Regions from separate parts of the Homo sapiens genome. Here regions 1, 2, 3, 4 and 5 are each linked to region 6. Evidence: promoter capture Hi-C in human tissues and cell types (Jung and others, 2019). All regions are on one chromosome and are shown on one strand. Each heading gives the region's core, a stretch centred on a gene start or on the middle of the fragment in contact. The rest is flanking DNA. Distances are from core to core; before and after follow the strand shown. Region 1 holds the start of RPS15 (ribosomal protein S15). Region 2 overlaps DOT1L (DOT1 like histone lysine methyltransferase). Region 3 overlaps TCF3 (transcription factor 3). Region 4 holds the start of GAMT (guanidinoacetate N-methyltransferase). Region 5 holds the start of AMH (anti-Mullerian hormone). Region 6 holds the start of ADAT3 (adenosine deaminase tRNA specific 3).

Region 1 (4,275 bases), core at 1-2,500, 470 kb after region 6:
AGGCGGGAGGGTCGCTTGAGCCCAGGAGTTCAAGACCAACCTGGACGACACAGAGAAACGCTGTTTCCACAAATAATCAAAAATCAAGGTCGGGCGCGGTGTTCACGCCTGTAATCCCAGCACTTTGGGAGGCCGAGGCAGGTGGATCACCTGAGGTCAGGAGTTTGAGACCAGCCTGGGCAACACTGAAACTCGTCTCTACTAAAAATACAAAAATTAGCCGGACGTGGTGGGGGGGCCCTCTAATCCCAGCTACTCGAGAGGCTGAGGCAAGAGAATCGCTTGAACCCGGGAGTGGGAGGCTGCAGTGAGCTGGGACGGAGCCATTGCACTCCAGCCTGGGCGACAGGATGAGACTCCGCCTCAAAATAATCAAAAATTAAAAAATAAAAGCGCAAGCCAGATGCCCACCACCACCCTGCCTGGAAAGGACCCAGCGACCTCCACCGCCCTTAAAATCTAAGGAGTCTAACGCAGCCCCTTATTCTAAGTCACGTGGGCTACAGACAGGGGCTACACCTTCCAACTAAGCCGCGGAAAAGTGAACAACGGGGGGCAGGTTGCAAATAAGCAAAAACCTCAACGTCTCTGGACAGTTTTCTGGGCGCAAGACCACACTCAGTTCCAAACCCGCGCGGAGACCGTGCCCGCCCACCGCCGCAGAGGCGCTTGGACCCCCGCCCCGCCGCCCTCACCCGGACAAGCCCCACCGCTGGCCCAGCCCCTGCCCGCGACCCCCGCGGCCGCCCTTACTAGGACATGTCCAGCAGCTGGTCGAGGTCCACGCCGCGGTAGGTGAACTTGCGGAAGGTCCGCTTCTTCTTCTGCTCTACTTCTGCCTGTGCGGGCGCGGATCGGGCGTCAGCGGGATCCCGACACCCATCTCCCGGGGCCACCGGGCCCGAGGACACCGCGGAAGACGCGCGGCGCCGCCGGGGACAGAAGCCCGACAGGGACACACCGCTTCGACCCGTCCCCGGGGATCACTCGCGGCTCCGGGTTACGAGGACCCGGACATGAAGGCCCGGACAGGCCTTCCCAGCCCCGCGTCGTCCCGACACCCACCAAGTCCGCCCCTCGCCCCAACATCCAGCCGCCTGCAGGGTCGGGAGCAAGCCGCCGTAGCCGCGGGGACGAACTGCGGCCCCCGCGAGACGGTCAGAGGTTGGATGGAGCCGGATAGGCCCGGCAGAGACGCGCCAAATCGCAACACTCACCATCTTGCCGGATCCTCAGAAGAGATCGCTTTGGTCCGCGCCTGCGCAGTTATCGCGAGACTGCCGGCATGTCCCGCCCCCTCGGCCGTGCGCGCACACGCGCTTCCGCTTTCCCGGCGGCGAACACGCGCCCTCTGCCGTCTGGAGGGCAAAACACAGGCTGCAGGGATTAGAGCAGCCGCCGCCTGAGGTCTGCAGAGCCGCTTCCTCCACGGAGTGGGACTTTGGACAAGTCGCCGCCCCTGTCTGAGCCTCGGGTTCGTGCTCCGTCATCTACACGATGGCACCCACATCAACAAGTATTTATGGAGCGCCTACCGTTTGCTCGTAGGTGCGGTTTGGCGGTTCAGGTCCCACTGTGGGAGGAACACGAGAATTCATTACAGATACTGGAGCAGGGACAGGGCCTCGCTGAAAAGAACCATTCCGGCTTTAACAGATAAAATTTTGTATATAAAGTTAGTAAGGACAACACAGTGAGACTGCCTCTCTACAAAAAAATACAAAAATTTGTGTACACACGGACATAAAAGAATAAAAAGTACAAAAAATTCCCAGCTACTCGGGAGGCTGAGCCTTCAGCCCAGGAGGTCAAGGCTGCAGTGAGCCGTGATCGCGCCAACGGCACTCCAGCCTGGGCGACAGAGCAAGACCCTGCCTCAAAAATAAAGTTAGGAATATCACTGGGTTTGTTAAGATATGTAAATGTAATGTGAATAATGATAGCTCAAAGAGAAGGAGTAACTAGAACTATGTAGGAGTGACTTTTTTTTTTTTTTGAGACAGAGTTTCACTCTTGTTGCCCTGGCTGGAGTGCAGTGGTGTGATCTCGGCTCACTGCAACCTCTGCCTCCTGGGTTCAAGCGATTCTCCTGCCTCAGCCTCCCAAGTAGCTGGGATTACAGGCACCTGTTACCGTGCCCGGCTAATTTTGTATTTTTAGTAAAGACACGGTTTCTCCATGTTGGCCAGGCCATGTTGGTCTCGAACTCCTGACCTCAGGTGATCCACCCGCTTTGGCCTCCCAAAGTGCTGGGATTACAGGCGTGAGCCACCGCGCCTGGCCTAGGAGTGATGTTTCTGTATCTTACTGGAATTAAGTATAAAGTTGAAGGTGACTATTAACTATGGATGTGGCACCTGGCTGGGCGTGGTGGCTTATGCTTGTAATTCCAGCACTTTGGGAGGCCGAGGCGGGCGGATCACCTGAGGTCAAGAGTTCAAGACCAAGCTGACCAACCCTAACTCTACTAAAAATACAAAAAATTAGCCAGGCGTGGTGGTGGGTGCCTGTAATCCCAGCTCCTTGGGAGGCTGAGGCAGGAGAACCGCTTGAACCCGGGAGGCGGAGGTTGCAGTGAGCTGAGATCGCACCACTGCACTCCAGCCTGGGCGACAGAGACTCCTTCTCAAAAAAAAAAAAAAAAAAAAAAAAGAAAAAGAAAAAAAAAAAGCACAAAACCTCTGGGAACCCGAGCTTAGCTGTGGCACTGTCCAGGGAGCTGAGCTCTCCCCAGCCGTCCCCACAGTCCCAAGGGAAGCCAATTACACTGTACTCAGGGAGGGCTGAGTCTCCGTCCCGAGGAGCACAGGACCTATGTGTCGGGCCCGTCCATGTTACCCATTTTCCTGCAGCAGAGTGTCCTGGCTGGAAAGCTGATTTTGTGAGTGCTGCTCTTTGGCTGGGGGAGCTAATGTAACGGGAGGGGCTGACACTCAACACCATGATGACCTGTGGTGTGGATAGACAGCCGCCCCCGCCTGGCCCTCCTGGGAGCTGGGGCAGCAGCTCCTGAGGACATGGGAGAAGGCTCTGACGGCAGGGAATGGAGCTGGCTTCCTGGGCTGAGGCGTTGAGGGGTACTGTCTCAGTGAGGAAACTGCACTGCACAGGGATGTTGGGGGTACCCCTTCTCTTGGTTCTCTCCAAACTAAGTCAAACCTTCCCTGTCCCCAAAATATGAACTGGGGCGGGGGGGGGTGGTTCTGGCTGTCGCCTGAACAGTCTCACGCCTGGCACGCTGTAGGCTTCCAGTTTGGGACTTCATGGTCCTTTTTTTTTCTTGTTTTGTTTTTTGAGACGGAGTTTCGCTCTTGTTGCCCAGGCTGGAGTGCAATGGCGCAATCTCGGCTCACTGCAAGCTCCGCCTCCCAGGTTCAAGCGATTCTTCTGCCTCAGCCTCCCAAGTAGCTGGGATTACAGGCATGCACCACCACACCCGGTTAATTTTTGTATTTTTAGTAGAGACGGGGTTTCTCCATGTTGGTCAGGCTGGTCTCGAACTCCCGACCTCAGGTGATCCGCCCGCCTCGGCCTCCCAAAGTGCTGGGATTACAGTCGTGAGCCACCGCGCCCGGCCCTTTTTAAGTCTCGCCTTCCCTGCCACAGTGACAGAGTATCCCTTTCCAAAGATGCCCCTGTCCTAATCCCCAGAACCTGGGGATATGTCACCTTCCATGGCAAAAGATATGATTAAAGGTCTTGAGATGGGAAAAGCCTGGAGCCCACATTCCCCGAGAAAACTGGTGGTGGCCACATCCTCAAAGTCACAGCATCCCAAGACCCACTGAGGGATGGGCCCAGCTCGCCACTCAGCCTCTGCCCTGAAGCCCTCGGGGTTGCTGAGACCACCAAGAGCCAAGGGGAGGGCGAGGGCGCCTCCGTCGCGTTTCAGACCTTTCCTAGGCACTGGAAGGGTAGGCACAGGCCAAGACCAAGGAGGGAAAAAACGGACACAAAGTGGTTTCTAATCCAAACGCACTTCTCTTTATTCAAACCAGGGTCAAACTGGTCAATGGGAAACGCCCTGAAGCCACGTGCCTGGGGAGAAAGGCTTCCTACTCGGTTCGGTTCAGCGCTGCGTGGGATCCACGCGGCTGGCTGTGCGCAACCCCCACAGTTCACCTCAGACACTACCAAGCAGGTCAGTCGACAAAAGCAAGGAATTAAACAAAAAACAGAAATACACTCAGTAGATTTCTTCTAGAAGCTCCCAGAGTTTCTGGACCACCAAGTCCCAACCCCCAAAGCCAGGAGCGAGGGGACTAACAGCGCACC
Region 2 (4,327 bases), core at 490-2,989, 310 kb before region 6:
GCCCCAGCTGCCACCTGCCACCTGCCCTCTGGGGTCCACTACCTCATCCAATTTTTGCTGAAACAGCCTCCTGATCTCCTCCTTCTGGGCCTGGCAGTGGCTGAGGAGCTGCTGAGCCGCACCCAGGAGCTGGGCGTTCTTCTCCTGTAGGACAAACAGGGCAGGTGACTAAGGGCCAGGGCAGGTGACTGAGGGCCCACAGGGAGGGCCCACGCCCTGCCTCTCATGCTTCCTGAAGACACGCTCAAGGACAGACATGCCTGAGGGGACCCACACCGGGCTGAGATGTCAAGAAATACTCAGGCCACGGCGGGAGGGGACCAGCTCTGCATCAGGTTCACTGCAAAGAACTCTCGCCAGCTGGAGGGACTGCACCTGCCACCCCACCTGGACTCAGCCAGGGCAGCGCCCCCAGCCACGCAGAGGCCGGCCAATGCCAAGGAGTTTATCCCAAGGCAATACCAGGGGATGGACTTTTCACATGGATCTGCAAGGAAGCCTTCTGCAGCGTAACAGCAAACACTCAGTGTCCGGAGGCCCACCTCCAAGGGAAGACCCCAGGAGCCACTGACACAGGACAACCTTCAGACACCAGCAGAGAACAGGGCCCCGGCCCAGGCATGCTGTCAGCTACACAGTGAGCAATGCATGTGCATATATGCTCAAAGCACGCTGTAAGCTTTTTTTTAAAAGCAAAGCCAAAGTCCAAAATGCAAACCAGGGCTCAGGGACAGCCGACCTTGTGGCTCCAATGGCTTTTGGAGTTATCTCTGGGCCGCCAGAACTTCCACCCCATAGCCCGGCCCTAGCTCCCCACTAAAGCAGGTCCTCGGAGACTCCCAGGGCGGGGCCCCACAGCCGGGACCTCAGGTGAAGGAAATCATGTATACAGTGGTCCATTTCCAGGACAAACTGCCTTGAATTGGCTTAGGTCAGCAAACTACAGAAGAGACAGCATGTACTAGGCCCCTGCTTGGATCGCTGATGCCTGCTTGTCAGCCTCCCCTGCCCCCGCTTCCCCCGGCTTAGTTGCCCTCACCCGAACCAAAGAAGTTTAGCCTAAGATGAAGGTTTACCAGCCTGCAAAAGAGCTGGCTTTGTCTGTTCTTAATCAGCCTGCCCAGCTACTTAGATCATAAGTCAAATACTTGAACAGTCCCTGAGCTGACTGGGATTGCAATGCACAAAATGCAGCAGGACAACCCTAAAGAAAACACCTACAACCGGGCGTGGTGGCTCATGCCTGTAATCCCAGCACTTTGGGAGTCCGAGGCGGGAGGATCACGAGATTAGGAGATCAAGACCATCCTGGCCAACACAGTGAGACCCCGTCTCTACTAAAAATACAAAAAATTAGCCGGATGTGGTGGTGGGTGCCTGTAGTCCCAGCTACTTGGGAGGCTGAGGCAGGAGAATGGCGTGAACCCGGGAGGCGGAGTTTGCAGTGAGCCGAGATCACACCACTGCACTCCAGCCCCTGCCGAACCAATAGGCGACAACTGGGAAGACTGTGACCTCACAGTACTCAGCCTTTGAGGAACCGGGGGAGGGACCTGTGCACTAGGGGGAAGGTTGCTTGTTCAAACTGTGCTGGGTGTGCCTATCAGACACCAGGTCTTGCAAAACCATGATTAAAAGTCTCATTTTCGCTGTTTTCCGGGTCTCTCAGTCCATTCTTTGGGTTTAAACGGGTAGGTTTGTTTCTCGCAGCAGGTGAGCAGAGGAGGGAGCCCACTCAGGCCTGCGCTCCAGGGCCTCTGCCACAGGGGACAGATGCCCAGGAACAGGAACGAACTGCCTCTGTGCGGGAAGGCGGAATGCCAAGGGGGCCAGGACCCACCTTCTCCTGGCCCAGCAGCTCCTGCAGGCTGGCCTTGTACTGGGGGGTCTTTGTGTATGCCAGGAACTGCAGGTACTGGATCTTGAAGGACTCTGGGAAGAGAGGCGGAACACAGGTGAGAAGAGAGCAGCTGAGACTGAGAGGGAAGAGGTGGGAGCAGCCCTTGAGAACGAGTCCCAGGCCTCGGCAGGTGTCAGGCACTCATGAGGCAGGAGCTCAGCAGAGCCTGGCGGGGCCCATGCCACACGCCCCAAGCTCGCAGAGCACTCAGGCCCTCTGACCCCTGCGCAGCCAAGTGTTCACCGCGTGGGGCCATCCTGGGCACTGCAAGGCCCTGAGCAGCATCCCTGGCCTGCACCCACCCCATGCCAGCAACATCCCTAAGTTATGACAACTGCAGACGTCCCAAGTGTCACCCAGCATCTCCTGGGTAAGACCTCAGACAACCCACAGGCTGCATCTGAGCCTCTACTGACCCCTGCAGCAGGCAGACCCCAACCCTGGGTAAACTTCAGTGGGGTCCAGCATGGAGGTCACGGGGGCTGCTGCGAGGTCAGCGTCACAACCCACGGTCCTCCTGGGATGACCCCAAGCCCAGAACCCTTCGCCGGACGCCTCACACGGGCTCACCTAGAAGCTTCTGCAGCGCGGGCGGGGTGGGCGCCACCAGCAGCGGGTTGGGGGAGTGCCGCTGCACGCTCGGAGGTAGCTGGTAGAACGGGCTGTGAGGGGATCTGTAGGCATCTGGGAGAGCGGAGGGCAGGCGTCAGCACAGGGCGGGTCGGGAGAGCGGTGGGCAGAGGCGTCAGCATGGGGCAGGTGCCCAGCAACCCCTTAGGATGGGGCCACCCTGAAGGCACAGCCACAACAGGGAGGCTCCAGGGACACCCTGAACACACGGGGCTCAGGAGGGCAGCGTCCCAGCAGAGGGGACCCCAGGCATCCGCACTCGGGGAGAGCGGGGGCCGTGGCGTGGGGGCGGCTCACCCTGGGGTGAGGAGGCCGCCGTCTGAGACACGGTCTGAGCGTGCAGGGCATCCAGTGCAGTTTGGTTCTTCTTGGGCTTCCGCTCGGGGTTCGCAGTGTTCATCTTCTTGGGGCGCCCGCGCTTGCGGCCAGCCATCTTCCTCCCCTTCTTGTTTAGCTTCTTCTTGCGGGCTTTGGAGGGAGACGGCTTCTTCACGGTGGCTGCTCCCGCCTTCTCTTCCTCAGCACCAGAGTCCTGGAGGACACAAGGGAAGAACAGGGATGGGCACAGAGCCTCCCACCCATGGGGTCTCCCGGGCAGGGGGCGGGTGCCCTCCAGCAGCAGGAGCCAGGCTGGGGCCTTACCATGGGGGCGTCGGCGGGGCCGGCCACCTTGCCCTCTGGGCCCTTAGTGGGCGTGGCCGCGTTGCTCTTGCTCTCGCGCTGCTGGCGGCGCCGGGCTGCCTCCTGTTCCTCCTGGAAGGAGAGCAGGTTGAGCCACAGGAAGCCCCAGCGCTGCCCACGGCCCTCCTGCACCGAGAGGCACGCGGAGCTCAGACTCAAGGGGGCCACGGGCCCAACTCTGTCCACTGCAAGTCCTCTGTGGCACAAATCAGGAAACTGAGGCCCAGAGACAGCAGTGGGCTGCTTGGGGCCCCGCAGGCCAGGACGTGACCCGTGGGCACGGATAACGGCATTCACAGCCACTCCCACAATCACAGATGCCTGTCAGTAAGAAGCCAGACTGTGAGCCACAGAGAAAAAGAACCACATCCAAGACAGGAGACGAGAAGCCCCTCAGGCAGCAGGACCTAGAAGCCACAGCCCACAGCCTCCCCTGCCCTCTCTCCTCTCTTCGAAAGGCACCGAGGCCCACACATGGGACGCCATGCACAAGTTCTCTGATGTGAGTTAGTGGAGGGCGCGACCCACGGGAAGGGGAACACAGGGTGCGCCGGCCACCTCGGGCCGTTCCCTGCTCTCCAGGGAAGACCCACATCCCCCTAAGCATGGTGGGAAGGACAGAGGGCCCCCGAGGGGTACCAGGCTCTGAGGCCGGGTTGGAGCCCAGCCCTGGCTACAAATCCAGGCAGTGACAGAGCCCTTCCTGTACGGGGTTCTCCGCATGCTGGTCTTGTCTGACCCCCTCCAAAAGGAAAGGACGCCCGGACAAACATCCTCTCAGCTTTGGTGGCAAATAAGCAGGCAGGTCTGAGGCTGCAGAAGCGCCAGCGGGCAGGGCGGCCACTGTGGCTCCCCAAGCCAGGCTTTCCCACCGCTGCTTTAAGGTGGGAGAGGAGGGGACAGCCCTGCCTCCGACGGTGCAGCGCGTGCAGGGCGCGGGGGCCCAGGAGCTGCACTCTGCACCGAGGGTGGGACAAGCGCACATGTGTGGCCCCCCAGGCCTCAAGAGGGGGCAGCCAGCAGTGACGCACAAGCTTTTCACCCACCCAGCCCTTCAGTGCAACTCACCCCACCACCAAAACTAAGCCAAGCCACCTCCCCAAAAATAAGTATTAA
Region 3 (4,173 bases), core at 1,439-3,938, 300 kb after region 6:
ATCCCATCCAGTTCCACACGAACTAGGGCAGTGGTCACTGTGGCACCCAGGTGTGGGCCTGGCTAGCTGGGGGCCTTCATGTGCCCTTCATGCCCCTCCCTGCATTGAGGCCTTGTGGACCCCTGGGCTGGCTGTGTTCATCCCCGCTGCAGGTCGGGCGTCTCCCCCCGTGCCACTCCTGAGACTCCCACCGTTACCCCCAGGAGATCCTGGACTGCCTGACTCCCCTCCCCAGACTGGCTTGGGAGCCTGGGCCCCATGGTAGATGCAAGGGAAACCTCAAGGCCAGCTCAATGCCTGGTATCTGCCCCCAGTCCAGGCCAGGCGGAGGGGAGGGGCTGTCCGGCTGCCTCTCCCTTCTCGGTGGCTTCCCCTACGCCCTGGGAGTTTGATCTCTTAAGGGAACTTGCCTCTCCCTCTTGTTTTGCTCCTGGCCCTGCCCCTAGGTCTGGGTGGGCAGTGGCCCCATAGCCTCTGGAACTGTGCGTTCTGCATAGAATTCAAACGAGATTCACCCAGCGCGAGGAGGAAGAAACAGCAGTTCCTGGGAACCACAATTATGGGGGGTGGGGGGTGTGATCTGAGTGCCTCAAGATGGTTTTCAAAAAAATTTTTTTAAAGAAAATAATTGTATACGTGTCAACACAGCTGGCTGGATGATTGGGACTTTAAAACGACCCTCTTTCAGGTGGATTCAGAGACCTGTCCTGTATATAACAGCACTGTAGCAATAAACGTGACATTTTATAACGATGCCCTGCAGTCCCCGGGTTCTTTCTGGTGTCACATGTTTAGGAAGGGAAGTGGGGGGGGGCCCTGACGTTCACCTCGGGTGCAGCAAGGACCGTGGTCCACCCTGTGCACTGGGCTTCCTCGAAGCGACTCCTCACTCTGAGGAGCCCATGGCTCCCAGGGCGGCTGGGAACCTGCATGTGTACTCAGGGCTCCAGGCCACCTGGAAGCAGGATTGGCTCCCGGGGAAAAGCAGCTCCCTGGGGGCTGCACTTGGGCGCGTAGGAACCATCCAGGACCTGCGGTCCTCCCAGCCCCCATCTGGGAGGGCTCCCCATCTCCCAACGTCCCCCCCCCGGGCTGTTGGAACCCACTTCCCTGCCCCTTCCTGCTCCGAAGTCGGCTCGAAGTCTGAGTCTGTCACTGCTCCTCTGAAACCTTCCACGGCTCCGTTGCTGGCAGCGTCAACCCCACACTCCTTAGTGCGGCATCTGTGACTTCCTCCACAACCGGATGCCCACGGAACCCACGGACAGAGCTCTCGGGGGGAAGGGGTGTGGCAGGACCTGTGGGGGCGCTGCTCATCCCAAAGTGCCCACTGGCAGGCATCTGCTGCTGTGCCCAGGGACTTGGCCGCTGCATCTCTGCGAGGACACAGCTGGACTGCCCTGCTCCCCTACAGGGTTGGGGTGGAAGGAGTGCCTTCCTGGCCACTTGACGGGGGGTGGCCCCCAGGAGAGAGCCCTTTGGCACACAAGTGCCTTAGGGAGGAGAAGGCTCAGCACAGTGACTCATATCTGTAATCCCAGCACTTCAGGTGGCTGAGGCGGGAGGATCGCCTGAGGCCAGGAGTTCCAGTCCAGCCTGGGCAACATAGTGAGACCCCATGTCTATAATTTTTAAGGGAAAGAGAGTGGCCAGGAGTTGACAGAAGGTGCTGAGGGAGCCCTGTCCACCACTCTACCCAGCTGGCCTCTAAATTCATGCTGGAAAACAACTTTTAAAATATACATTGGCCGGGCGCGGTGGCTAACGCCTGTCATCCCAGCACTTTGGGAGGCTGTGGCGGGTGGATCACTTGAGGTCAGGAGTTCGAGACCGGCCTGGCCAACATGGCGAAATCCCATCTCTACTAAAAATACAAAAATTAGCCGGGCATGGTGGCGCAAGCCTGTAATCCCAGCTATTTGGGAGGCTGAGGCAGGAGAATAGCTTGAACCCAGGAGGCAGGGATTGCAGTGAGCTGAGATTGCACCACTGCACTCTAGCCTGGGCGACAGAGCGAGACTGTCTCAAAAAATCAAAATTAAATTGGTTGTACCTGGTGACACACACTTGTAGTCCCAGCTACTTAGGAGGTTCAGGTGGGAGGATCGCTTGAGGTGGCAGTGAACTGTGATTGCACCACTGCACTCCAGCCTGGGCAACAGAGCCAGAACCTGTCAAAAAAAAAGGGTGGGCCAGGTGCAGTGGCTCATGCCTGTAATCCCAGCACTTTGGGAGGCCAAGGCGGGCGGATCACGAGGTCAGGAGATCGAGACCATCCTGGCTAACGGTGAAACCCCATCTCTACTAAAAATACAAAAAATTAGCCAGGCGTGGTGGCGGGCACCTGTAGTCCCAGCTACTCGGTAGGCTGAGGCAGGAGAATGGCGTGAACCTGGGAGGCGGAGCTTGCAGTGAGCCAAGATCATACCACTACACTCCAGCCTGCAGCCTGGGCGACAGCAAGACTCCGTTTCAAAAAAAAAGGGTGGAGGGGACATCCAGATGGTCCAACAAAATAACAAAAACCGGCTCAAGAAACAAAAAGGAAGTTCTATGTCATGTTGAATGGCTTCAGGCACAGCTGGATCCAGGTGTCATTACAAATCTCTCTCCATCTCTCAGCTCTTGTTTATGTCACTGTCTCTGATGAACTCTTTTTTTTGTCTGTTTGTTTTGAGACGGAGTTTCACTCTTGTTGCCCAGGCTGCAGTGCAATGGCGTGATCTCGGCTCACCGCAACCTCTGCCTCCCGGGTTTTCAAGCAATTTTCCTGCCTCAGCCTCCCGAGTAGCTGGAATTACAGGCATCCGTCACCATGTCCGGTTAATTTTGTATTTTTAGTAGAGATGGGGTTTCTCCATGTTGGTCACGCTGGTCTCGAACTCCCAGTCTCAGGTGATCTGCCCGCCTCAACCTCCCAAAGTGCTGGGATTATAGGCGTGAGCCACCGTGCCCGGCCACTGGTGAACTCTTACATTGTGGCATCTGGAAACTCTGGGCTGACATTCCAGCAGCCCTTGTGTTCCTGTCCTTTCTCTTAATAGTCTCTGTGTCAGCCCCTGCATCCCACTTTTTTAAGTTTCCACCAATGGGAAGAGTCTTATTCAGGTGCTCTCTGATCCCAAGCTCAAAAACCCCAAGCCAACTGGAAAGTTCTACAAACAATGCCCAGGGCCGGGCCCGGTGGCTTACACCTGTAATCCCAGCATTTTGGGAGGCGGATCACTTGAGGTCAGGAATTCAAGACAAGCCTGGCCAACATGGCCAAACCCCATCTCTACTAAAAATACAAAAACTAGCCAGGTGTGGTGGCTCACGCCTGTAGTCCCAGCTACTTGGGAGGCTGAGGCAGGAGAAGCTTGAACCCGGGAAGCGGAGGTTGCAGTGAGCCGAGATCGTGTCATTGCACTCCAGCCTGGGCCACAGAGCGAGACTCCGTCTCAAAAAAAAAAAGAAAGAAAAACAGTGCCCAGACTGTGGTGTCCAAAACCTATTTCCGGCTCCCACCCTGAGTCCTTAACCAGGGATAGGGATGGGTTAGCACCCGCAGTCCCCAGAGAGCTGCAGGCTTGGGGTGTACTGAGGGGCTGACCCCAGGAGGACAGGCCAGGCTGGGCAGAAGAACCCACGGTGTCCATTCCTTATCACGAGGCCTGCAAGTGACGCTGGCGCCCGAGAGACAAATCACGCCCAGTGCCCCGTCTAGGCTATGGCCTTTCCGTTCATGCTGTAAAGGTGCCTGTGGGTCAGGCAGTCCAGGAGGGCTTCCTGAGGGAGGCAACTCTTGAATATGGGGGAAAAGGCACAAAAGTGCAATGGCGGTGTCTGGGAATATGCCCCTCTTCCTTCTGCCCACACCGGCCCGGTGTGCAGGGGGGAGGCTGGAAGCTGGGAGCTGAGTGAGCATGTACGGTGCTGCGCCGGGTTGTGGGAGAGCAGAGGAAGCAGGGACTGGAGAAAGGCGAGCCCAAGCGAGCCTGGTGCGGTGGAAAGCAGGAGGCAGAAAGACCTGCCTGTCATCAGCTAAGAGCATCCAGAGACGTTCACCGAGCAAGGAGCCAGGCCACCCTCTGCTGCCGGAATGAGGAATAACCCAGGCTCGCAAACGGAATCCTGCAAAGAGATTTCCGACAGGGCCTCCAAGCAACGGGCAACGCTGAGGCTCAGGGAAGC
Region 4 (4,141 bases), core at 1,475-3,974, 500 kb after region 6:
ACGCCCGGCTAATTTTGTATTTTTAGTAGAGACGGGGTTTCTCCATGTTGAGGCTGGTCTCGAACTCCTGACCTCAGGTGATCTGCCCGCCTTGGCCTCCCAAAGTGCTGGGATGACAGGCGTGAGCCGCCACGCCCGGCCCCATTTTAATTATTTGTAGGTGCACAGCTCATTGGCATTAAGCGCATTCCCATTGTTGTGCAACCATCACCGCCGTCCTCTCCAGAACCTTCTCATCTTCCCAAACTGAAACTCTGCCCCGTGAAATACTCACTCCCTGTCCCCTCCCCAGCCCCTGGCACCCCCCCCCCCCGCCATCCTACGTTCTGTCTCTGTGGATCGGAGGACTCCAGGGACCTCCTAGGAGTGGACTCACATAGGATTTGTCCTGTTGCGACTGGCTTATTTCACTGAGAGTGATGTTCTCTGCAACCTCCGCCTCCCGGGTTCAAGCGATTCTCCTGCCTCAGCCTCCTGAGTAGCTGGGATTACAGGCACCCACCACCACGCCCAGCTATTTTTGTATTTTTGTAGACATGGGGTTTCACCGTGTTGCCAGGCTGGTCTCAGGGGATCCGCCCACCTCAGCCTCCCAAAGTGCTGGGATTACACGCGTGAGCCACCGCGCCCGGCCCTGGCTAATTTTTAAAACTTTTTTTTTTTTGTAGAGACAAGGTCTCTGTGTGTGGTCTAAGCTGGTCTTAACTCTTGCACTGAAGCAATCCTTCTACCTCGGCATCCCAAAGTGGTGGGATCACAGGCCTGAGCCCCTGCACCTCCCCCAGGCACTGGGATCACAGGTGGGAGCTGCTGCACCCAGCCTATCAAGCATGTTCTGTGTGCCAGGATCACTGACAGCCCTGTGAGAGGGACGCTAGGACCATGAAGAAATACCTTCCGTTAGTGAACTACCAAAGAGAGAGAAAACAGCTTCTGGCCGGGTGGGTGCGGTGGCTCACACCTTGCAATCCCAGCACTTTAGGAGGCCGAGGCGGGTGAATCACGAGGTCAGGAGATCAAGACCATCCTGGCTAACATGGTGAAACCCCGTTTCTACTAAAAATACAAAAAAAAAAAAAAAAAAAAAAAATTAGCCGGGCTTGGTGGCGGGCGCCTGTCATCACAGCTACCCAGGAGGCTGAGGTAGGAGAATCGCTTGAACCCGGGAGGCAGAGGTTGCACTGAGCCAAAATCATGCCACTGCACTCCAACCTGAGCAACAGAGTGAGACTCTGTCTCAGAAAAACAAAAACAAACAAAACAGCTTCTGACCAGGACATGCCTGTCCTGGGGCAGAATGGGGGTGTCTCCTAGAGGACACGTGGGCTCAGCTTGAGACAGAACGAGAAAGCGGCCTGACCAGGAGAGAGGCTGTCTGGGCAAGGGGAAGAGCGTGTGCCAAGGCCCGGGGCTAAGGAGCTGTGCAAGAGGTGGCAGGGGCATGTGGAGGCGTTGAGCAGGCAGTGATGGGGCAGGCAGCTACCCAGACAAGGTGGCGCAGGGAAGGCCGCGCGCGGGAGCTGTTTCCGAGGCTGCCTGCGTTCACACCGTGGCCCTGCTGCAACCTGTGAACCTCAACCTCTCTGGGCCTCAGTTTCCCTCGTGTTAAATGGGCATAATAACTGCATCTGTTAACCCGTGCAGAACGCACGGCAGGCAGGCAGGCAGGCAGGCAGGCAGTGCTCAGGGCTCATGACTGTGGCCCCACGTTCAGAGGGGGAAGGAAACCGGCTATCAGAGCCAGGACGCCACCGCAGCGGGCTTGGGGGCCCCCAGGAAACAGGCGGGGGGTGTGCTTGACCCTAAGGGGCTACCCTGGGCTGGGGGAGGCCTAATTCCACCCCCGCACACCCCAGCTGCAGGGCCGCCGGAGGAAAGGGCACTGCTGGGATTGAGTCCTGGTCTCCAGAACTGGAGGCGTCTTTGGGCGGAATCCCCCATTAGGGACCCGGGGTCTCAGATGACCCCCAGCCTATGGGGGTGTGACATGGGCTCATGAAAGGGGGGCATCAGAGCTCTAATGCTGGGTCCCCACCCTCGTGGCCACCAGACCACCGGCTTTGCTTCTCAAAGCCTCAGTTTCCACATCTGTAAAATGACAGTCGGCTGCTCTATGGAGTAGCCATTCATTTTTATTCCTTAATAAACTTGCTTTCAAAAAAGAAAGGAAGGAAGGAAGGAAGGAAAAACGACAGTCATCATAGAACCTGGCGGGCGCGGTGGCTCACGCCTGTAATCCCAACACTTTGGGAGGCTGAAGCGGGAGGATCGCTTGCGCCCAGGAGTTTGAGACCAACCTGGGCAACATAGCAAGACCCCGTCTCTATTAAAAAAAGACAGAACTCACTGTAGCATCTTCTGAAGATTAAATGATTTTAAACACTTAAAGCACTTCCAACAGCGCCTGGAAGATCCTCAGATTCTCACACCCCAGCGAGGAGGGGGCCTTTCTGCGGTGCTGACAGATGAGGAATCTATGGCGCGTAAGCGGCAAGGCGGGGATTCCAGTCCCCAGCCTGCAGGTTCGCGTCCCCGGGCGCGGGGCTGCGGTGCCCGCTCCGCAGAGGGGGCACCGAGGCTCCTTGGGGAGGGGGCGGCCGGGGCCCCGACCCCACTCCCGCCACCTCTCGCGTGGCCGCCGCTAGAGGCCGCTCCCGGAGCCGCGCGCGCGCGTCCTCTCGCGGGTCCGCCCCCCGGGCCTGTTGGACCCGCCCCCGGCCCACAAGCCCCTGCAGGGAGCGGGCCCGGGCGGCGCGCGATCGAGGTCGGGTCGCCGTCCAGCCTGCAGCATGAGCGCCCCCAGCGCGACCCCCATCTTCGCGCCCGGCGAGAACTGCAGCCCCGCGTGGGGGGCGGCGCCCGCGGCCTACGACGCAGCGGACACGCACCTGCGCATCCTGGGCAAGCCGGTGATGGAGCGCTGGGAGACCCCCTATATGCACGCGCTGGCCGCCGCCGCCTCCTCCAAAGGTAGCCCCCGCCCGGCCTGCACCGCCCCCGGGGGCGCAGGGGAAACTGAGGCCGGGGCTGCCCCGACCCGGGGACTCTGCAGCCCACCCTCCCGCCGGGGCGCCTCTGTCTCCTCGCCTGGGAAGTGGGGCTGCAGGTGGGGGCACACGGAGGCGTTCACGGGGAGTGCGGCAGGCGTGGGGCCCGCACACGTTAGGCACCGCCTAAGTACCAGAAACTTCCTCTCCAGGGGGAGTGAGGCCCCCCGCTCTCCAGATGGGGACCTCAAACGTGAGACCTGGGTGAAACTGGGTGGAACCGGGTCCCCAGCTCCCTGTCTGAGGTCGGGAGGAAGGGGTCGTGCCAGGGAGAGGCTGCCCTTCTGCCTGCCTGGGAGAGCAGCCCCGACTCGCCCGGCTAAGAATAGCACTCGGAAAGCTGAGCTCAGGGAGACAGCTGTCCCCGGGGTGGCCCTGGCCTGCCTGGCGTCAGACGCTAAGGGCTGCTAAGAAAGGACTCCCTGGCCCCACACAGGCCCCGTCCAGGGGTCGGGCCTCAGTGTTCCCACCCTGAAAATGGGCACGTCCAGTGTCCAGTGCCAATCAGGATTGAGCGGGGGGCCCATGTGTGGCCCACTGGGGACCAGTCCTTCCCCTCCCAGATAGTCTCAAGTCCAGGTCTTGCCTGGCCACTCTTGCAAATCCAACTTTCGGATAGAGGGAGGGGGAGAGAAAAGTAACTAACCCGAGAGATAAGGGACCCGGGACAAACAGCGTGGGCTGGGCTCAAAGTCCAAGGCTCTCGCCTCCCCACAGGCCTGGCCCCAAAAGCGGCCGTCTTCGGCCTCCCTGGCTGGTCATCCTCTCTCTGGCCGCTGGCCAGGGCCCACGCTGTTCCCGCTCAGGACTACTGTGTTCCGCCCGCCTCTGTCCATGCTGGCCCAGGGTGCCCTCCCGTCCTGTGGCAAATGTGACTCACATAGCCTAGTTCAGCCCTGCACCCCCTCCTCCAAGCAGACCCCCAGCTCAGCCCTGCCCTACCCTGTGCCCCCTCCTCCAGGAAGCCTCCCCAGCCCTGCTCTGCACCCCCTCTTCCAGACAGCCTCCCCAGCCCTGCATCCCCTCCTCCTGGCAGCCTCTCCAGCCCTGCCCCGCACCCCCTCCTCCAGGCAGCCTCCCCAGCATTGCCCCAC
Region 5 (4,243 bases), core at 1-2,500, 340 kb before region 6:
CTGGTTCTACGCTGTTCTCAGTACTGCAGACCCTGCAACAAATCCATGCCCCCCGCCACGGCCCGGGCACTGCCCCATGCAACTCCCTGGTACCTGGGCACCCGGCAGCCCAGCCCTCGTCACAGTGACCTCAGGGCCAGGCCCAGGGTACAGCACCAGCAGCGCCAGCTCTGGGGGGCCAGCTCCTCCAGGCGGGGGCTCCTGGAACCTCAGCGAGGGTGTTGGCTCCCAGGTCACTGCAGCCGGGACAGCAGGGGACGCCTGAGCCATTGAAGGCCACACCCCCCGGGAATCTTTGGGATCTGTCCCTGCCGCTCTGGCCACTGTGCAGGGGACCTCAAGCGGGGGACAAGGGTGCCCCTCTTAGCTGCCTTCCTGCAGCCAGGGAGCGGTGACGGCAGGGGCAGGCAGGGGCTGCGTCTGAGGCTGTGGGTGGGGCTGCCGCCCTGGGGTCTCTGGGTTGGGGTGCCCGATGAAGCCCCTTCCCCGCAGGGAGTATCTTAGGCCAGCGGCCCTGAGAACAGGCTGGGGCTGTGGGAAGAAGGGTTCCACTGGCCCCGAGCCCTGCGTCGTCTTCAGGGGTGGGGAGAAGGCAGCAGCTCTCTCCCTGGCACCGAGGCAGGGGCAAGTCTAAGAGCTGGGCTTCGGGGACAGGACAGAGTGTGGTGCCCACCTTCCAGGCCACGGACCCGCAACCCAGTCCTAGGAACAAGACCACAGCCTCCCTGCCCAGGGTGGGGGCTCTGCCAGCCCCTGATCTTCCCTAGGAGGACCCGGCCCACCTGAAGGAAGACGGCGGTGCCAAGCTTGGGGCTGGGCCCCACATACCTTCCTCCAGGTGTAGGACCACCAGGCGCTGCCCCCCAGGGTCCCGCAGCCAGGCCCCCAGCCGCCGTAGAGAGGGCAAGGCAGCCTGCCTGTCACCGGTGTTGCAGACCCCGAAGGTGGCCAGGTCTCGGGGGCCCCAGCGGGCCCTCTGCACGGCCCCCAGGAAGGCCTGCTCATAGGCGCTTAGAGCCCCCACCACCCGCAGGGGGGAGCTGCTGCCATTGCTGTCCCCGCCCAGTGCCACCAGGCACAGAGGCTCTTGTGGGCTGCCTGGAGGCCAGTCCAAGTCTTCTCGGAAGATGAGGCCACTGGTGCCCACAGCTGGCTCCTCTGCTCTGAGGGCCTCAGTCCCCAGCAGAGCCCCCAGGGCAGACAGCACTAGGGCCAGGCTGGTGAGAGGCAGGTCCCGCATCGTGGGTGCTGCCAGGGGCTGGGCTGCCTGCCTTAAGTGAGCCGAGTGGAAGGTGGGGTGTTTGTGCAGGACAGACCCCTATCTCCTCTGCCGCGACCTTGGGGGACAGTGCCCGGCGCCCCCACTCCAGGCAGAGTGGCCTTCTCAAAGAGCCCTTTCTGTCCCTGGCAGCCTATCTCCCTCCCCAGTGATAGAGCTGGGCCTGATGTGTCAACATGCCGTCCTTGAGGGCCATCCCCAGAAGACACAGGAGTGGGAACCAGGCTGGGAGTGACGGCCAGGCAACCAAACTAGACAGCGCTGGGGGCGGGGGGCCCAGATGTCCTGGGTGCTGAGGTGTGGGCCTGGAGGAGGAGGGTCCCAAGTCAGTGGGGGCGCCCTGTCCCTGCTCACCCTCCCCACCCCTGGTGGGCTATCTGGAGACCCCAAGGATATCGTGGAGTCTGCTCTTCCCTCCCCAGAACAGGACCCCAGATCCCCTCCTAGCTGGCTGGTGGGGTCTGTCCTCCACCAGGCCATCTCCAAGGTACAGCCATCTCTCAGGCCTCCCACAGGTGTCTCCTGGCGGGCCCCAGGCCCTCCCCAGTCGGCCCAAACTGGGGGATGGTGCTGTGCCTGGCACTCCCACACACACTGACACAGTAGGGCGGCGCTGCGGACATCAGTGCACTCAGGGCTGGGGGAGGCTGTTTAATGAGCGGGGGGCAGTACAAAAGAGCAGCCTTCTCTCAGTGGGAAAAGGCAAGAGCACCTGGCGCTGGGCTTGCTGGGGGAGGGAGCAGCTTCTCAGTTGGTTGGGGGAGGGGGAGGTATGTTCCCTGGGCCTTCGGAGGGAAGTGGGGGCCTCAGCATTGGGGGCATGGGAGTTGGGGGGTGCACCCCAGGATTTGAGGGGTGAACTCCCGGAGGCTGAGGGTGGACCCCAGGAGCCGACGGATGGACCCCGGGAGGTTGGGGGTGGACCCCCGGGGCCTGAGGGTGCATCCCTGGGGCTGGTGGGTGCACCCCTGGGGCCTGAGGGTGAACGGCGGGGGCTGCTGGGTGCACCCCCGGGGCCTGGGGGTGAACCCCCGCTGATGGGGGAGGATGGACCCCTGGGGCTGGTGGGTGAACCCCAGGGGCTGGTGGGTGGACTCCGGGGGCTGGTGGGTGAACCCCGGGGGCTGGAGGGTGGACTCCAGGAGCTGGGGGGTGGACCCCAGAGGTTGGTGGGTGGACCCCAGGGGCTGGGGGATGGACGCCAGGAGCTGGGGGGTGGACGCCAGGAGCTGGGGGATGGACCCCAGATGCAGGGGGATGCACCACTGGGGCCGGGGGGTGGACCCCTGGAGCTGGCGGGGGTAGCTGGGGTGGTCCCGGGGGCCCTGAGGGCGCAGGCCCTGTGGGGGGCATGGGTGGCAGAGGCAGGCCTCCTGGCGGGGGCGGTGGCAAAGACTCAGGCAGCGGTGGCCGAGGGGGCAGACCGTTCATCAGCGGGGGTGGAGGCCGCTTCACCCCAGGGGGGCCAGCAGGGAGGCTGGGTGGAGCCGGGGGCTTCTCCATCTTAAAGTGGAACTGGAGGAAGAACTAGAGAGACGGAGAAAGGTTCAGCAGGCACGGGTGGGGCTAGGGCAGGGCTAGGGCCGCCAGGGCTGGGTGGGAAGGAGCCAGGCTCGGGGCGAGCCACTCACCTGCTTGGTCTCCCGGTTCCAGTGTGTCCAGAACTTGCCCTCCGCCTTGTCGATCTCTCTGCTCGGCACCTGGGAGGGCGGGGGACAGAGAGGGCTCCTGGTCCCTGTGACCTCAGGGCGACCATCAGGCAGGGAGCCCGAGGCACTAGCCTCCCCAGCCCGGACTCTACCCTGGGAGCCCAGGAGAAGGCTGGTAAGACTTTCGTGGGGCACAGGGTTCAGTTCTGGAGTGAAACAGACCTGGCCTCAATGCTAGCACGCTGTTGGCCCCCTCCCTGGGCAGTCACCGTTTGTATTATTTGTTTCCTGATGGCCGCCCTGTCCAGGCATGGGGACAGGCTGTAGGAAGCCCTCCAGCAGCCTGGCCCAGGAAGTGAGGTCACTTGGCAAAGGCCTCACAGGCCTGGCGCTCAGCCCTGCCGGCCTCCCTTCTCATTGGCCCAGTGGAGCCCAAGCAGGCCCTCCTGCAGAGCCCAATGGGAGAGGTGCCCTGCCCGGCCTGTGCAGACCCTTCTGGCTCCGACTTGGGGGGGGCCCAGGGGACCCCAAGCCCGATGGGAGGGGCATCCTGCCCAGCCTATGCAGATCCTTCTGGCTTGCACATCTCAAGGGGGCCCAGGGAACCCCGCAGCCACGCTACCTTGAAGGCAATGGTCTCGTAGGGCTCGGCGGCCATGAGCAGGTACTGCCAGCGCCGGTCCGGAGGCTCGATCCTCTGCTCGTACGCAGACATGAAGCGGTGACGTGGCATGATGCCCTCGGCGATCTCAGGGTAGTCAATCTGCAGGGACACGGCCGGGTGGCAGAGCCGCCTCTTGGGTGCCTTTGGCCGCCCCCCACGCCCAAGTCCCTGATCTCACCTGGAAGAGGAGGCTCTGCTGGCCCATCTCCGAGTCTCTCTGCTTGGTCACTGCAACACAGAAAGCTCTCAGGTCCCGGCTGCTTGTCCTCTCCGAAGCTGAGGAACCTGGGGCAGGCTAATGCCACCCACTGAACGAGAGCGGGACCCCGGGGGAGGCCCTGCAGCTCTGGCAACCATTAGACAATCTCCGCCCAGGCTCTGGGATTCTGGTATAGGTGAAGGCACAGGTGCGCCAGAGCTGAGCTACCTGCGGAGTCACTCAGGCAGGGACCGAGGATGGTGCTCCTTTGTCCCAATCCCCAGAGCCCTTCACCAGGGGTGCTGGGATACCACCCAGCAGGAGTTGGGGCCACTGGGTAGGGAGGGGCCCTCGGCACCCTGGCTCTGGGATTCGAGCGGGGCCGCCTGAACAGGGCTGACACCATGTATACGGTGAGCGAGAGAGGATGCCCTTCCCGCCAGAGCTCAGCA
Region 6 (4,324 bases), core at 1,260-3,759:
CAGGCCAGGGCGGCCTCAACTGCCAGAGCACCTCCTACCTACCTGCTATGGCCCGGGGGGACGACTCACTCCCACAGCGACTGCCCCCCAACAGCAGGGGGCCACCTGACCCTCCCTCTACCACACCCACCCAGAAGGCAGGCGACCGACCACTGGGACCCCTCAGGAGGGCAGGCAGCCCAGGTCCCAGGTCCCAGCAGAACACGGCCGCCAGCCTGGGCTGGGAACCGGCATAGCTCCAGGCAGGTGAGTCAGACCCTGCGTGGTGACAACCCTGGTGAACAGGAGGCTGGGAGGCCTTTATCTAAGCCCACAGATGAGGAGGCCAAGGTCCGCGCCGGGACCTGGGTATGTCCACCCAGAAAACACACCCAGTCCCCAACCTGCCCTAGAGGCGTTCAGCCCAGCGCGGTCAATTCCTGACTGCGAGAACTCAGGCACCAGTCCTGACTCCTCCAAGCCTCGGCTTCCACCCCTGTGAAATGGGAATTCCTGCTCTACCTTTTTTTTTTTTTTAAGGCAGGGCTGTCAGGTACATAAGAGAAAATGGGGGGATGGAGGGGCCTGACCATCTTCAGCAGAATCCAGGAGGGCTCCTCGGAGGCAGTGACCCACAGCCCAGCCTGGAAGGCTGGGGAAGTAGGGGAGAGAACTCGGAGAGGGAACAGCTAATGCTCAGTTCCAGGGCACACCAATAGTCTGCGTGGGGGCTTTTTTTTTTTTGGGACAGTCTCACTCTGTCCCCCAGGCTGGAGGGCAGTGGCGCGATCCTGGCTCACTGCAACCTCTGCCTCCCTGGTTCAAGCAATTCTCCTGCCTTAGCCTCCCAAGCAGCTGGGACAACAGATGTGCACCACTATGCCTGGCTAATTTTTTATATTTTTAGTAGAGGTGGGATTTCACCATATTGGTCAGGCTGCTCTCGAACTCCTGACCTTGTGATATACCTGCCTAGGCCCCCCAAAGTGCTGGGATTACAGGCGTGAGCCACTGCGCCCAGCCTGGGGCTTGTTTCTTTACACACACACACACACACACACAATTTTTTTTTTTTTTTGAGACGGAGTCTCACTCTGTCGCCCAGGCTGGAGTGCAGTGGCACGATCCTGGCTCACTGCAAGCTCTGCCTCCTGAGTTCACACCATTTTCCTGCCTCAGCCTCCTTTGGGAGTAGCCGGGACCACAGGCGTCCACCACCATGCCTGGCTTTTTTTTATTTTTAGTAGAGACAGGGTTTCACCGTGTTAGCCAGGATGGTCTTGATCTCCTGATCTCGTGATCCACCCGCCTTGGCCTCCCAAAGTGCTAGGATTACAGGCGTGAGCCACCACGGCCGGCGCTACACGTATGTATTTTATTTATTTATTTAGAGACAGGGTCTCGCTCTGTTGCCCAGGCTGGAATGCAGTAGTGCCATCACAGTTCACTGCAGCCTCAACCTCCGGGGCTCAAGCAATCCTCCTGCCTCAGCCTCCCAAGTAGCTGGGACCACAGACATGTGTCACCATGCCTGGCTTATTAAAAAAAAATCTTTTTTTCTTTTTTTTGGAGAGTGAGTCTTGCTAGCTTGCTCAGCCTGGAGTACAATGGTGCCATCTTGGCTCACTGCAACCTCCACCTCCCAAGTCCAAGCGATTCTCCTGCCTTGGCCTCCCCAGTAGCTGGTTTTACAGGCGCGTGACACCACGCCCAGCTAATTTTTGTATTTTTGGCAGAGATGGAGTTTCACCATGTTAGACAGGCTGGTCTCGAACTCCGGACCTCAGGTGATCCACTCGCCTTGGCCTCCCAAAGTGCTGGGGTTATAGGGTGAGGAACTGCACCCAGCCGTCCTTGTTTCCACGGAGTCGATCCTCTGTTTCTGGCCACCCTACAAGGAGGCCTTCTCTGCAAGACAGCGGGGAACCTCGGTCCTCGGGGTAGTGTGTGGGAGATAACTGGGGGCCTGTGATACAAAAACCTGAAAAACTCATACTCTAGGTAACGATGAGGAACGATGGTCAATTCTGGGGATGTACCAAGGCCTAGGGGAATCTCCACATAAAGGCGAATCAGAGCTGGGGAGGAAGGACGCGAAGGCTACGGAAACTCGCGAGAGCGCGGTTCAGAGGCAGGGGACTGCGGGACATGACCTGAGGAAGGGCCACCGGAAGCAGCTGGAGGATACGGGGTCTCCCGCACCGACCATAAGGGCGCACACGCGCAGAAAGGCGCTAGGCCCGGGGGAGCGCGGTCCTGAGGCTTCCCCCAGGCCAGCGCCGCGCGCGCGCGCGCACGCGCATTCGCGCCGCCTCCCCGCGTCGCCCACCGGCCCGCCCGAGACGCGCGCGAGGCTGGCCTGGGCCCCCCGTTTTCTCCCCACAAACGGCCGGCGCCCCTCACCGCCGAGACCCCCCATGTCAGCCCCTACTCCCCCTCTGGGGAAGTCTGAGCCTGGAGAACCCGAGACCTCGGGGCCGCGCGCTTACCTGAGGGATCCGGGCGCGAGCGCAGCGCTTCGCCAAGTCTTAGCAACCGGCCCGGCCCAACCCACCTCACCCCGCCTCGTCTCCGCCTGGAGCCGCGGAGCACGACGGGAGCGTAGTTCCAGGGGCGGGATCTTCGCCAGGCCAAGGTGGGGCAAGGACTACAATTGCTAGTAGGCACTGCGCGCCGCCGCCTCGCCCCGCCCCGCTCCGGCACTGCGCTCACATGACCTCCGGGCGGCGGGAGGGGAGGAGAGGCGGGGCCGCTGCGCTGGGCGAGCGCTGAGTTTGCAGGTTCGAATCCCATCAAGCGGCCAGGGAAAACTCGGAACCCGGGGGATCTTTGGAAGGTTAGCAGAGTGGGAAGGATGAGGCAGAGGGGGTATATGACACCCGTCCCCTGAGTCCGGGATGGGGCCAGGTTCCAGTTCTGCCTGTTACTGCACTCCGGCGTGGGCCGCCCTCAGGTTTGAGTTTTCTCACCAGTAACGTAGGTGAAGAAGACCTCTTGCCTCTCCTGGGCCAAACAAGCACATTTTTTTTTTTTTTTTTGAGACGTAGCCTCAGTCTGTCACCCAGGCTGGAGTGCAGTGCTAGGCTCACTGCAACCTCCACCTCCTGGGTTCAAGCGATTTCTGGCTAGTTTTTGTACTTTTAGTAGAGAAGGGGTTTCACCAAAACATGCATATTTTATGAGCAATTTGTTACTCCTTCCAGTTGGACAGGTTTAACCAAGTGGTTCTCAACGGGAGGGAATTTGTCATCCCCTCCCCCAACAGCTTGACAGTGCCTGGCTGTAACCAGCTCAGGCTCCGATGCCAGAGTCTTGACAAACCAGTAAGGAGGAAAAAGTGCAGTGAAAGGAAGGTGACTTCCTTTCAGAGTTCGCAGCAGGGAGGCAGCTGGTTTAGGCCTCCAGAAACCCCTTCAAACTTGAGGCTGGGGTGAGGGGCTAAAAAAGGGGAACTGGGAATGGTGGGTGTGCAGGGGAGGTGCTGATTATAAGCTCTGTGTGTTCATGAATTTTGGTGGCTTAAAAGCGCAGGCTGGCCTCATCCTAATAAGGGCCGGGTTGCAGACCACCTTGAGGAAATCTCTGGGATTTTGCAGGTGGGTCTCCGTGCTTGGCCTGTCTCCAGATTAGCTCTAAAACGTTCTTTCTTTTTTCTTTTTTTTCGAGACAGTCTCGCTCTTGTCACCGAGGCTGGAGTGCAGCAGCACGATCTCAGCTCACCGCAACCTCCACCTCCCAGATTCAAGTGATTCTCCTGCCTCAGCCTCCCGAGTAGCTGGGATTACAGGCACACGCCACCACACCTGGCTAATTTTGTATTTTTAATAGAGATGGGGTTTCTCCATGTTGGTCAGGCTGGTCTCAAACTCCTGACTTCAGGTGATCTGCCCGCCTCGGCCTCCCAAAGTGCTGAGATTACAGGCGTGAGCCACCGTGCCCAGCCTGTTCCTGGAACTTTTAGGTAATCACATAATTAGATGCATACAGTTAGGTAAACCTGCAGAGTGTGAGGGAGTTTATGGTGAGAAAGGGGAGGACGTGTTTCAAAGAAAGTGCATTTCAAGGTCGGATGCGGTGGCTCATGCCTGTACTCCCAGCACTTTGAGAGGCCAAGGTGGGTGGATCACCTGAGGTCAGGGGTTCGAGACCAGCCTGGCCAACATGGCGAAACCCCATCTCCACTAAAAATACAAAAATTAGCCAGGCATGGTGGCAGGGGCCTTTAATCCCAGCTGCTGGGAAGGCTGAGGCAGGAGAATCACTTGAACCCGGGAGACGAAGGTTGCGATGAGCTGAGATCGCACCATTGCACTCTGTTGCCTGGGCGACAGAGTGAGACTCCATC

What was found. The method cuts DNA at HindIII sites, captures the fragments that hold promoters and counts their contacts. A contact is called where the count stands out against the background at its distance.
Region 1: a contact is called between the fragment with the promoter of RPS15 here and the fragment with the promoter of ADAT3 in region 6, in 1 of the 25 tissues and cell types used here (dorsolateral prefrontal cortex).
Region 2: a fragment that was not itself captured here is called in contact with the fragment with the promoter of ADAT3 in region 6 in 1 of the 25 tissues and cell types used here (dorsolateral prefrontal cortex).
Region 3: a contact is called between a fragment that was not itself captured here and the fragment with the promoter of ADAT3 in region 6, in 1 of the 25 tissues and cell types used here (dorsolateral prefrontal cortex).
Region 4: the fragment with the promoter of GAMT here is called in contact with the fragment with the promoter of ADAT3 in region 6 in 1 of the 25 tissues and cell types used here (spleen).
Region 5: the fragment with the promoter of AMH here is called in contact with the fragment with the promoter of ADAT3 in region 6 in 2 of the 25 tissues and cell types used here (dorsolateral prefrontal cortex and spleen).

The regions. Positions count from the first base shown.
Region 1 is chr19:1,435,371-1,439,645 of GRCh38, reverse strand. It overlaps RPS15 (ribosomal protein S15), which reads right to left and starts at 1,250. Exons shown (of 4, transcript NM_001018.5): 1 at 1,218-1,250; 2 at 754-839. The coding sequence starts at 1,220. It overlaps DAZAP1 (DAZ associated protein 1), which reads right to left. Exons shown (of 12, transcript NM_018959.4): 12 at 3,962-4,275. RefSeq lists enhancers at 1,007-1,226, 635-1,505. The HindIII fragment of the contact is 20,902 bases long and covers 1-4,275 here.
Region 2 is chr19:2,209,356-2,213,682 of GRCh38, reverse strand. DOT1L (DOT1 like histone lysine methyltransferase) reads right to left here. Exons shown (of 28, transcript NM_032482.3): 13 at 3,173-3,283; 14 at 2,828-3,062; 15 at 2,471-2,584; 16 at 1,841-1,932; 17 at 43-144. DOT1L-AS1 (DOT1L antisense RNA 1) reads left to right here. Exons shown (of 2, transcript XR_007067087.1): 2 at 1-1,655. Among named protein-coding and RNA genes, the nearest start is that of DOT1L-AS1, 4.0 kb to the left of the region's middle. The HindIII fragment of the contact is 3,245 bases long and covers 117-3,361 here.
Region 3 is chr19:1,605,873-1,610,045 of GRCh38, reverse strand. It overlaps TCF3 (transcription factor 3), which reads left to right. Exons shown (of 19, transcript NM_003200.5): 19 at 1-754. Among named protein-coding and RNA genes, the nearest start is that of UQCR11, 2.5 kb to the right of the region's middle. RefSeq lists enhancers at 1,375-1,444, 1,475-1,524, 3,007-3,628, 4,084-4,173. The HindIII fragment of the contact is 3,073 bases long and covers 1,152-4,173 here.
Region 4 is chr19:1,400,125-1,404,265 of GRCh38, reverse strand. GAMT (guanidinoacetate N-methyltransferase) reads left to right here and starts at 2,724. Exons shown (of 6, transcript NM_000156.6): 1 at 2,724-2,970. The coding sequence starts at 2,790. RefSeq lists a silencer at 2,407-2,986. The HindIII fragment of the contact is 15,848 bases long and covers 552-4,141 here.
Region 5 is chr19:2,246,330-2,250,572 of GRCh38, reverse strand. It overlaps AMH (anti-Mullerian hormone), which reads right to left and starts at 1,250. Exons shown (of 5, transcript NM_000479.5): 1 at 829-1,250; 2 at 94-236. The coding sequence starts at 1,240. It overlaps SF3A2 (splicing factor 3a subunit 2), which reads right to left. Exons shown (of 9, transcript NM_007165.5): 6 at 3,771-3,820; 7 at 3,551-3,691; 8 at 2,911-2,979; 9 at 1,918-2,806. The coding sequence ends at 2,027. RefSeq lists promoters at 1,241-1,272, 1,241-1,450, 1,241-1,520, 1,272-3,306, 1,241-4,239 and enhancers at 1,168-1,307, 3,362-3,863, 3,162-4,239. The HindIII fragment of the contact is 11,600 bases long and covers 1-4,243 here.
Region 6 is chr19:1,903,584-1,907,907 of GRCh38, reverse strand. It overlaps ADAT3 (adenosine deaminase tRNA specific 3), which reads right to left and starts at 2,509. Exons shown (of 2, transcript NM_138422.4): 1 at 2,469-2,509. SCAMP4 (secretory carrier membrane protein 4) reads right to left here and starts at 2,509. Exons shown (of 7, transcript NM_079834.4): 1 at 2,469-2,509. RefSeq lists enhancers at 2,006-2,095, 3,116-3,175, 3,456-3,515 and silencers at 2,256-2,405, 2,456-2,785. The HindIII fragment of the contact is 31,876 bases long and covers 1-4,324 here.